Linked DNA regions of Homo sapiens: regions 2 and 3 are each linked to region 1. The links are contacts of gene promoters, found by promoter capture Hi-C in blood cells and fetal thymus (Javierre and others, 2016). All regions are on one chromosome and are shown on one strand. The core of a region is centred on a gene start or on the middle of the fragment in contact, and the rest is flanking DNA. Distances in the headings are between cores, read along the strand shown.

What was found. The method cuts DNA at HindIII sites, captures the fragments that hold promoters and counts their contacts. A CHiCAGO score of 5 or more calls a contact.
Region 2: the fragment with the promoter of OR10Q1 here is called in contact with the fragment with the promoter of OR6Q1 in region 1 in 5 of 17 cell types (neutrophils, total CD8 T cells, non-activated CD4 T cells and 2 more); the score reaches 6.2 in neutrophils.
Region 3: a contact is called between the fragment with the promoter of OR10W1 here and the fragment with the promoter of OR6Q1 in region 1, in 7 of 17 cell types (neutrophils, naive B cells, non-activated CD4 T cells and 4 more). The highest score is 7.4, in neutrophils.

What each region holds. Positions count from the first base shown.
Region 1 is chr11:58,029,651-58,032,350 of GRCh38, reverse strand. OR6Q1 (olfactory receptor family 6 subfamily Q member 1) reads right to left here and starts at 1,398. Exons shown (of 1, transcript NM_001005186.2): 1 at 445-1,398. The coding sequence starts at 1,398. The coding sequence ends at 445. The region is part of intron 1 of OR9Q1 (olfactory receptor family 9 subfamily Q member 1); the gene reads right to left. The HindIII fragment of the contact is 5,269 bases long and covers 1-2,700 here.
Region 2 is chr11:58,227,647-58,230,346 of GRCh38, reverse strand. OR10Q1 (olfactory receptor family 10 subfamily Q member 1) reads left to right here and starts at 1,429. Exons shown (of 1, transcript NM_001004471.2): 1 at 1,429-2,465. The coding sequence starts at 1,472. The coding sequence ends at 2,431. The HindIII fragment of the contact is 6,807 bases long and covers 709-2,700 here.
Region 3 is chr11:58,266,932-58,269,631 of GRCh38, reverse strand. It overlaps OR10W1 (olfactory receptor family 10 subfamily W member 1), which reads left to right and starts at 1,372. Exons shown (of 1, transcript NM_207374.3): 1 at 1,372-2,700. The coding sequence starts at 1,774. The coding sequence ends at 2,691. The HindIII fragment of the contact is 7,272 bases long and covers 1-2,700 here.

The sequences.
Region 1 (2,700 bases), core at 149-2,648:
ATATAATGCCTCCAGATTTATTTTTTTGGTTTTTTTTGCTTAGGATTGCTTTGGCAATTTGGGCTCCTTTTTTGCTTTCATATGAATTTTAGAATTGTTTTTTCTAATTCTGTGAAAAATGACATTGATAGTTTGATAGGAATAGCATTGAATCTGCGGATTGCTTTGGGCAGTGTGACCATTTTAATGATATTGATTCTTCCAATCTGTGAGCATGGGATGTTTTTTCATTTGTTTGTGTCATCTCTGATTTCTTTTAGCAGTGTTTTGTGGTTCCCCTTATAAATATCTTTCACTTCCTTGGTTAGTTGTATTCCTAGGTATTGTATTTTTTGTGGCTGTTATAAATGGAACTGCATTCTTGATTTGGTCTCAGCTTAAATGTTATTGACTAACCTGTTTTTAAATATCCAAGGCAAGGAAACTGGGTTCCCACCTGCCTCCTCACTGTCCCTTCCAAAAGTTGAGAGAAAAGACTCGACCCAGAGCTCCCTTCACTTCCTTGTTCCTAAGACTGTAGATGAGAGGATTGAGCATGGGCGTGACAACAGAGTAGAAGACAGATACCACCTTGTTGAAGTTGATGGAGGAGGTCACCTTGGTCTGGACATACATAAAGAAAAGAGTGCCATAGAAGAGGCTCACCACAGTCAGGTGAGCTGCACAGGTAGAGAAGGCCTTCCAGCGCTCAGCAGCTGAGCGGATGTGCAGCAGTGTCCAGACGATGTTGCCATAGGACACAGCAATGACCATAGAGGAGGCCAGTAGCACAGCCAGAGACACCAGGAAATCCACAGTCTCCTTCCAAGTGACATCTGAGCACGACAAGGCTAGCAAGGGTGAGGCATCACAGGAGAAATGGTCAATGACATTTGGGCCATAAAATGTTAGCTGAGACAAGAGGTAGATTGGCAAGATGGGTGTGAGGAAACCTACCAGCCAACAGGCAGCTGCCAGACGGATGCAGGTGCCCCAGGACACAAAAGCCCCATAGTGGAGAGGCATACAAATGGCCACATAACGATCATAGGCCATGGCAGCCAGTAGGAAACACTCAGTTGCCCCAAGAAAGGTGAAGATGAAGAGCTGGGATAGGCAATCAGCATAAGAGATATTCTTGCCACCATCCACCCCAATAAAACCAGCCAGCATCTTGGGCACTGTAACAGAAGTGTACCAGATTTCAAGGCAGGACAAGTGTGTCAGGAAGAAATACATGGGTCTCCGTAGTCGGTGGTCCAAACCCACCACTAAAATGATGGCCAAATTCTCCACCAAGGTGAACAGGTACATGGTGAGGAAGAGTATGAAGAAGAGGAGGTGTGCTTCATGGATGCCAGCAAAGCCCATCATGACAAATTCAGTTACCTGGGTCCAGTTTTTGGTATATGGTTGCATATGTGGCAGTGAGAGCTCAGCAAACTCATAGCCTCATAGACAATGAGAGCTCAAAGAGAACCTGTGAGGTTGGAGGATGTTGTACTAAAATGCCTTTCACTTCAGAAGAGAAACATGATGTCAACACACTGTTCTTACCCTCAAAGAATTCACAGTTCATGAGGGACATGAGAAAACAAATAATATTAGTACAAAATGAAATGCACTGGCTAAGAATAAGGCAGGATACTATGAGCAGAAATATCAGGGAAGCTCAACCAGTCTTGAGAAATCTTCCTGGAGGGAAGACTGTCTATAGCTGAACCTGAAAAGGAAGTATAAGTTAGTGAGACAAAAGGTAGAGATAGAGAGAAGACATCACAAGTATAAAATTCCAGACATCAGAGAGGAGATTGTGCATTGGGGAAACTTCAAGTAGAGACAGTTTACCATGGAGTTCAAGAGCTTGATTTCCCAAGCAAGCATACCTAGATTCAAATAAAAGAGAACCTAACAGATTTGTTGTGAAAATGTAAGTTAGATAATTCCTGTAAAGCACTTAGCATCATGTTTGAGTCAATAAATGTCAAGGGGGAAATCTACATGTTGACATCTCCTGGAATAAGATACAGAGAGAAAATGACTGTTTCTGAGCCTGAGGAGTAGGCTGGGACACCATGAAGGGCTAGCAACCAAATTAAGGGAAAGGAAAAAGCTGAGCTTCAGTCTAAAGGTCACAGGGAGACTTTAAGAATTATAAGCAGAGAAGCAATGCTATTCTTTTTACCCCTTAGAAGGGGCAGGTTTGGAGGGGAACAAGATAAGAGCCAGAGGCCGGGCCCGGTGGCTCATATGTGTAATCCCAGCACTTTGGGAGTCTAAGGCAGGCAGCTCACCTGAGGTTGGGTGTTCAAGATCAGCCTGGCCAACATTGTGAAACCCTGTCTCTATTAAAAGTACAAAAGTTAGCCCAGCGTGGTGGTGGGCACCTGTAATCCCAGCTACTCAAGAGGCTGAGGCAGGAGAATCACTTGAATCCAGGAGGCAGAGGTTGCAGTGAGCTGAGATTATGCCACTGCACTCTAGCCTGGGCAACAGAGCAAGACTTAATGTCAAAAAAAAAAAAAAAAGGAGGAGGCAGGAAGGCTGGGTTAGGAGGTTGTTGCAAGTATAGCATGGAGTGATGGTGACTTTAACTGCAGAAATGCCAGTAGGAGACTGAATATGACTATTAAGAGATAGAATCAACATAATTGGGTTTGAATCCACACTGGGTTTGAATTTAAGCTCCAATATCAACTTGAAATATGTGACCATGAGTGA
Region 2 (2,700 bases), core at 180-2,679, 200 kb before region 1:
CTGTAGATATTTTGTATTGTCTCTTAAATTTTTGTATTAAAAATAAAGTTGTAGTCTAACCTGAAAGTGCTTAATTCACAGGTATTTTTAACTTCCCAGATGCTTGCAAAGGTCTTTCTTATTCTCTTGATTATGTTAATGCATAATTCAATTGTGCTATTGCATTTTTAGTTTCCTCATTGTCTTTTCTTATCTCAGGAAGCTCCACTTTAATTTTAACCTGACTCTGTTCACTTCCCTTTCATTTGAAACTATTTGAGTCCAAAAGTTTAGCTTCCTGTTGGAAATTTAGATAAAATGTTCAAAAGAGAGGAAATATATGAAGAGTACATATCAGAAAAGATTGTAACAATGGGTGTTTTCCTACTTGTATGTGGAGTCAAAATAACTGAATGTAAAGTGAATAACTTATAGCCATAAAGCAATGGAAAGAACAAAGGATTGATTCAGAACAACAAGAATAACCTTTGCAGACATAATGTTGAAGCCAGTTACAATAAAGTACATGCTTTAGCATTTCATATATAAGTTGAAACATAGTTACATCAATCTGTAATGATAAAAGTCAAAAAGTGGTTACTTTTGTGAAGCATAAAGACTGAGAACATGAAGGATGTTTGTAGGTCACTGGAATCGTTCTATTTCTTAATCTTTGTAGTGGTTATACTGGCGTATTTACGATGTTAAAATAAATAAACAAATCAAGCTTCACACTTAGGATTTGTGAATTCCTCCACATGTATGTTATATTTCAATGAGAGTGCTTACTGAAAAAAGTAAAAGACAAATTCATTTATCTAATTTTAAAATATGTGCAACCATACAACTCTTCACTGTAATTAAATACAAGCAAAATAATTAAGTCTTATCAATTGGATTGAAAATATCGGGGTGGGGGGAGATATTTCACAAGGAACATCTACATGTGTCTACATGTCTTGCCCCCAGGAATTTCTGCAGATGACTGTCTATCCCATTCATGAGGATTTCCAAGGAAAAGTATACCAAACCCTATATCGTGAATTCATTCTCATGCACCGTGATTGGAAACTAGCTACTAAATAGTTAATTCCAAATAAAATTGTACACTCCTGCTTTTACTAAAGAAATAAAGCGGCCGGGCGCGGTGGCTCACGCCTGTAATCCCAGCACTTTGGGAGGCCGAGGCGGGCGGATCACGAGGTCAGGAGATCGAGACCATCCCGGCTAAAACGGTGAAACCCGGTCTCTACTTAAAAAAATACAAAAAAATTAGCCGGGCGTAGTGGCAGGCGCCTGTAGTCCCAGCTACTTGGGAGGCTGAGGCAGGAGAATGGCGTGAACCCGGGAGGCGGAGCTTGCAGTGAGCCGAGATCCCGCCACTGCACTCCAGCCTGGGCGACAGAGCGAGACTCCGTCTCAAAAAGAAAAAAAAGAAATAAAGCAACTCAGCCAAGAAGAGCTCAGCGCGTCCTATTCTTTTGCATAAGACATGCCTGTGGGGAAACTTGTCTTCAACCAGTCTGAGCCCACTGAGTTTGTGTTCCGTGCGTTCACCACAGCCACTGAATTCCAGGTTCTTCTCTTCCTTCTCTTCCTCCTCCTCTACTTGATGATCCTCTGTGGCAACACAGCCATCATCTGGGTGGTGTGCACACACAGCACCCTCCGCACCCCGATGTATTTCTTCCTGTCCAACCTGTCTTTCCTGGAACTCTGCTACACCACCGTGGTAGTACCCTTGATGCTTTCCAACATTTTGGGGGCCCAGAAGCCCATTTCGTTGGCTGGATGTGGGGCCCAAATGTTCTTCTTTGTCACCCTCGGCAGCACGGACTGTTTCCTCTTGGCGATCATGGCCTATGACCGCTATGTGGCTATCTGCCACCCGCTGCACTACACCCTCATCATGACCCGCGAGCTGTGCACGCAGATGCTGGGTGGGGCCCTGGGCCTGGCCCTCTTCCCCTCCCTGCAGCTCACCGCCTTAATCTTCACCCTGCCCTTTTGCGGCCACCACCAGGAAATCAACCACTTCCTCTGCGATGTGCCTCCCGTCCTGCGCCTGGCCTGCGCTGACATCCGCGTGCACCAGGCTGTCCTCTATGTCGTGAGCATCCTCGTGCTGACCATCCCCTTCCTGCTCATCTGCGTCTCCTACGTGTTCATCACCTGTGCCATCCTGAGCATCCGTTCTGCCGAGGGCCGCCGCCGGGCCTTCTCCACCTGCTCCTTCCACCTCACCGTGGTCCTGCTGCAGTATGGCTGCTGCAGCCTCGTGTACCTGCGTCCTCGGTCCAGCACCTCAGAGGATGAGGACAGCCAAATCGCGTTGGTCTACACCTTTGTCACCCCCTTACTCAACCCTTTGCTTTACAGCCTTAGGAACAAGGATGTCAAAGGTGCTCTGAGGAGTGCCATTATCCGTAAAGCAGCCTCTGACGCCAACTGAAGGCTTAGGGGCACTGGGCTGGGTGTCTGTCTGTTGCTGTGTCAAAGAACTCTAAATGACACAGAACTGTAGTACTTTCTCACACTGTGCACTTGATGTTTCTTTTTTGCCATATTTGCCCCAAGTTCACAATTCATGCTCATTTTTCTGAAGTGCTTTGACTAAGATATGAAAATTTGGACAGAACTTACAGCGTAGGAATGCTAGTTTACTTAGCTCTACTTTAAGGATTTGCAGCTCACCTATGTCAATTGCCATATTAGGAACAC
Region 3 (2,700 bases), core at 123-2,622, 240 kb before region 1:
CAAAGTGAAAGTAGAAAATGAAGAAAATGTATAAATAACATTTTCAAGCTGTATTATCCATTCGACATATAATTATTGAGTGTCTAAAATTTGCACAACATTAGGCGTGCTTATATGGGATGATCAAAATGTAAATAAAGCAGAATGGCTGCCCTTGAATTTATAAATAATAATGATGATTATCTTTTATTAGGTTGCCATTACTATGGACAGTTCATTGTGATATCTTACATTACTATTGCATTTAAACTTACAGCAATTCTTTTGTCTAAGTATAATTATTATTCCCATTTTTCAAATACAGAAATTGAGGCTTAGAGAAATTATATATTACCTAACATCATGAAGCCAGGAGCTGGAATTATTCAAACCACATCACTTCCCTTCACTGCTGATTTCACATTGATACACTGCCCCTCCTCCACATGATATAGTATAATGTGCAATATGCTAAGTGGCATTAGAAACCACTCAAAGCATTATTGAAGTTCAGCTCAGGAAAAGAGACCAACTGAAATAGATACCACTTGTTAGCTGTTGGAAAAACAGCAGAGAGCCATTTCTGCCCTAGGTGCTCTTAATATTTGTAGCTGCCTACTCATATTTTTCCCCATGCTTGTGACACTGAGGTGGGTTTGTGTGAATAATTTTTACTGGAAGTGGTGCCTCTGGGTAGAGATTTCTCTTCAAATCTCATATTCAATGACAGGAAATATTAAAATTTGGCACGTTGAAACAAGGCCACACATTACGTCTTTTCCACCTTATTTAATATGAGTTGGTCTGGGAAAAGAAGTGGAATGGATGCCCTTTGCAAATTACGTCTGTTTATTAAAAGGTTTTTGTGGAAAAGATATGGCTTCTCCCAGATTTCACATTAGCTTCTGAGAAATATGAAAAATAGATGGGCTTAGACTTTCATAATCATGCCCAAATTCACAGGAAGGCTTCTTAGATTTCCAACATCTTGGGATCACATATTTTCTCATACCTCCACCCACGCCAGGAGGAAACATATGATAAAACACCTTGTTTCCTTCAAGCCTTATACTTCTGGTCAGATAAGGATAGAAAAACCAATAGTAGACAGGGCTTTGCTTTCTGAGGCGTATCCCTGACACTGTCATACTCAGGCCTCTGTTAGCCCTTTGCTTCATGGGTAATTTTTTTTCTTTCTTCACTTCCCATCACTAGTTTTGAGAGTTACATTGACATATCACTTATTCAATACCCCAGGAGATATTGAGTGTAAATATTAGGTTGGTGCAAAAGTAATTGCAGTTTTTGCCATCAAAATGGCAAAACCGCAACTACTTTTGCACCAACCTAATAAATATGTGAATGAATAAGTGAATGAATAAATGGCTTATCTCCCTTACCTTAATGATTTCTAGCCCCAAGAATTCCTTGACACTTTCTTGTGAATTTGCTGAAAGAATTGAATTTTCATTCCACTCTTTCTGAAAATAGCTCCTGAATCCCACCCACTTCCTCTGCCATTTTTCTTCAATAGTATCTTACATAGTTTGGCCCAACTCTTGGCAGGTAGAAATTGAGGTGTAGATATTAATGTGGAGAAACTTGGTAAAAGTGGAGAAAAGAAAAAGAACTAGTCTTGATCCTTCCAGTTTCTAACTCCAGTGCTGATTACATTAGATTCATGGCTCAGAGTGTAACTTAATTTATCTTCAGTCTGATTCTTCCTTCTGTACTTGTAGCTCTCCACAGAGAAATACTGTTAGCTCAATTACCTGGGAAAATCACTCAGTGTTGATGGAATTTGTGTTCCTGGCCTATCCCTCCTGCCCAGAACTGCATATTCTGTCCTTCCTTGGGGTCAGCCTGGTTTATGGTTTGATCATCACTGGGAACATTCTCATTGTGGTGTCCATTCACACAGAAACCTGTCTATGCACATCCATGTACTATTTCCTGGGCAGCCTTTCTGGGATTGAAATATGCTACACTGCAGTGGTGGTGCCCCATATCCTGGCCAACACCCTACAGTCAGAGAAGACCATCACTCTCCTGGGCTGTGCCACCCAGATGGCTTTCTTCATTGCACTGGGCAGTGCTGATTGCTTCCTCTTGGCTGCCATGGCCTATGACCGCTATGTGGCCATTTGCCACCCGTTGCAGTACCCTCTCCTCATGACATTGACTCTTTGTGTCCACTTGGTTGTGGCATCAGTCATCAGTGGTCTGTTCCTGTCCTTACAACTGGTGGCCTTCATCTTCTCTCTGCCATTCTGCCAGGCTCAGGGCATTGAGCACTTCTTTTGTGATGTGCCACCAGTCATGCATGTTGTTTGTGCTCAGAGTCACATTCATGAGCAGTCAGTGCTGGTGGCAGCCATACTAGCCATTGCTGTGCCTTTCTTCCTCATCACCACCTCCTACACCTTCATAGTGGCTGCTCTGCTCAAGATCCACTCGGCTGCTGGCCGCCACCGGGCCTTCTCCACCTGCTCTTCCCACCTCACTGTGGTGCTGCTGCAGTATGGCTGCTGTGCCTTCATGTACCTGTGCCCCAGCTCCAGCTACAACCCCAAGCAAGATCGGTTCATCTCACTGGTGTACACATTGGGAACCCCACTGCTCAACCCACTTATCTATGCCCTGAGGAACAGTGAGATGAAAGGGGCCGTAGGGAGAGTTCTTACCAGGAACTGCCTTTCCCAGAACAGCTAGGAAAGACGA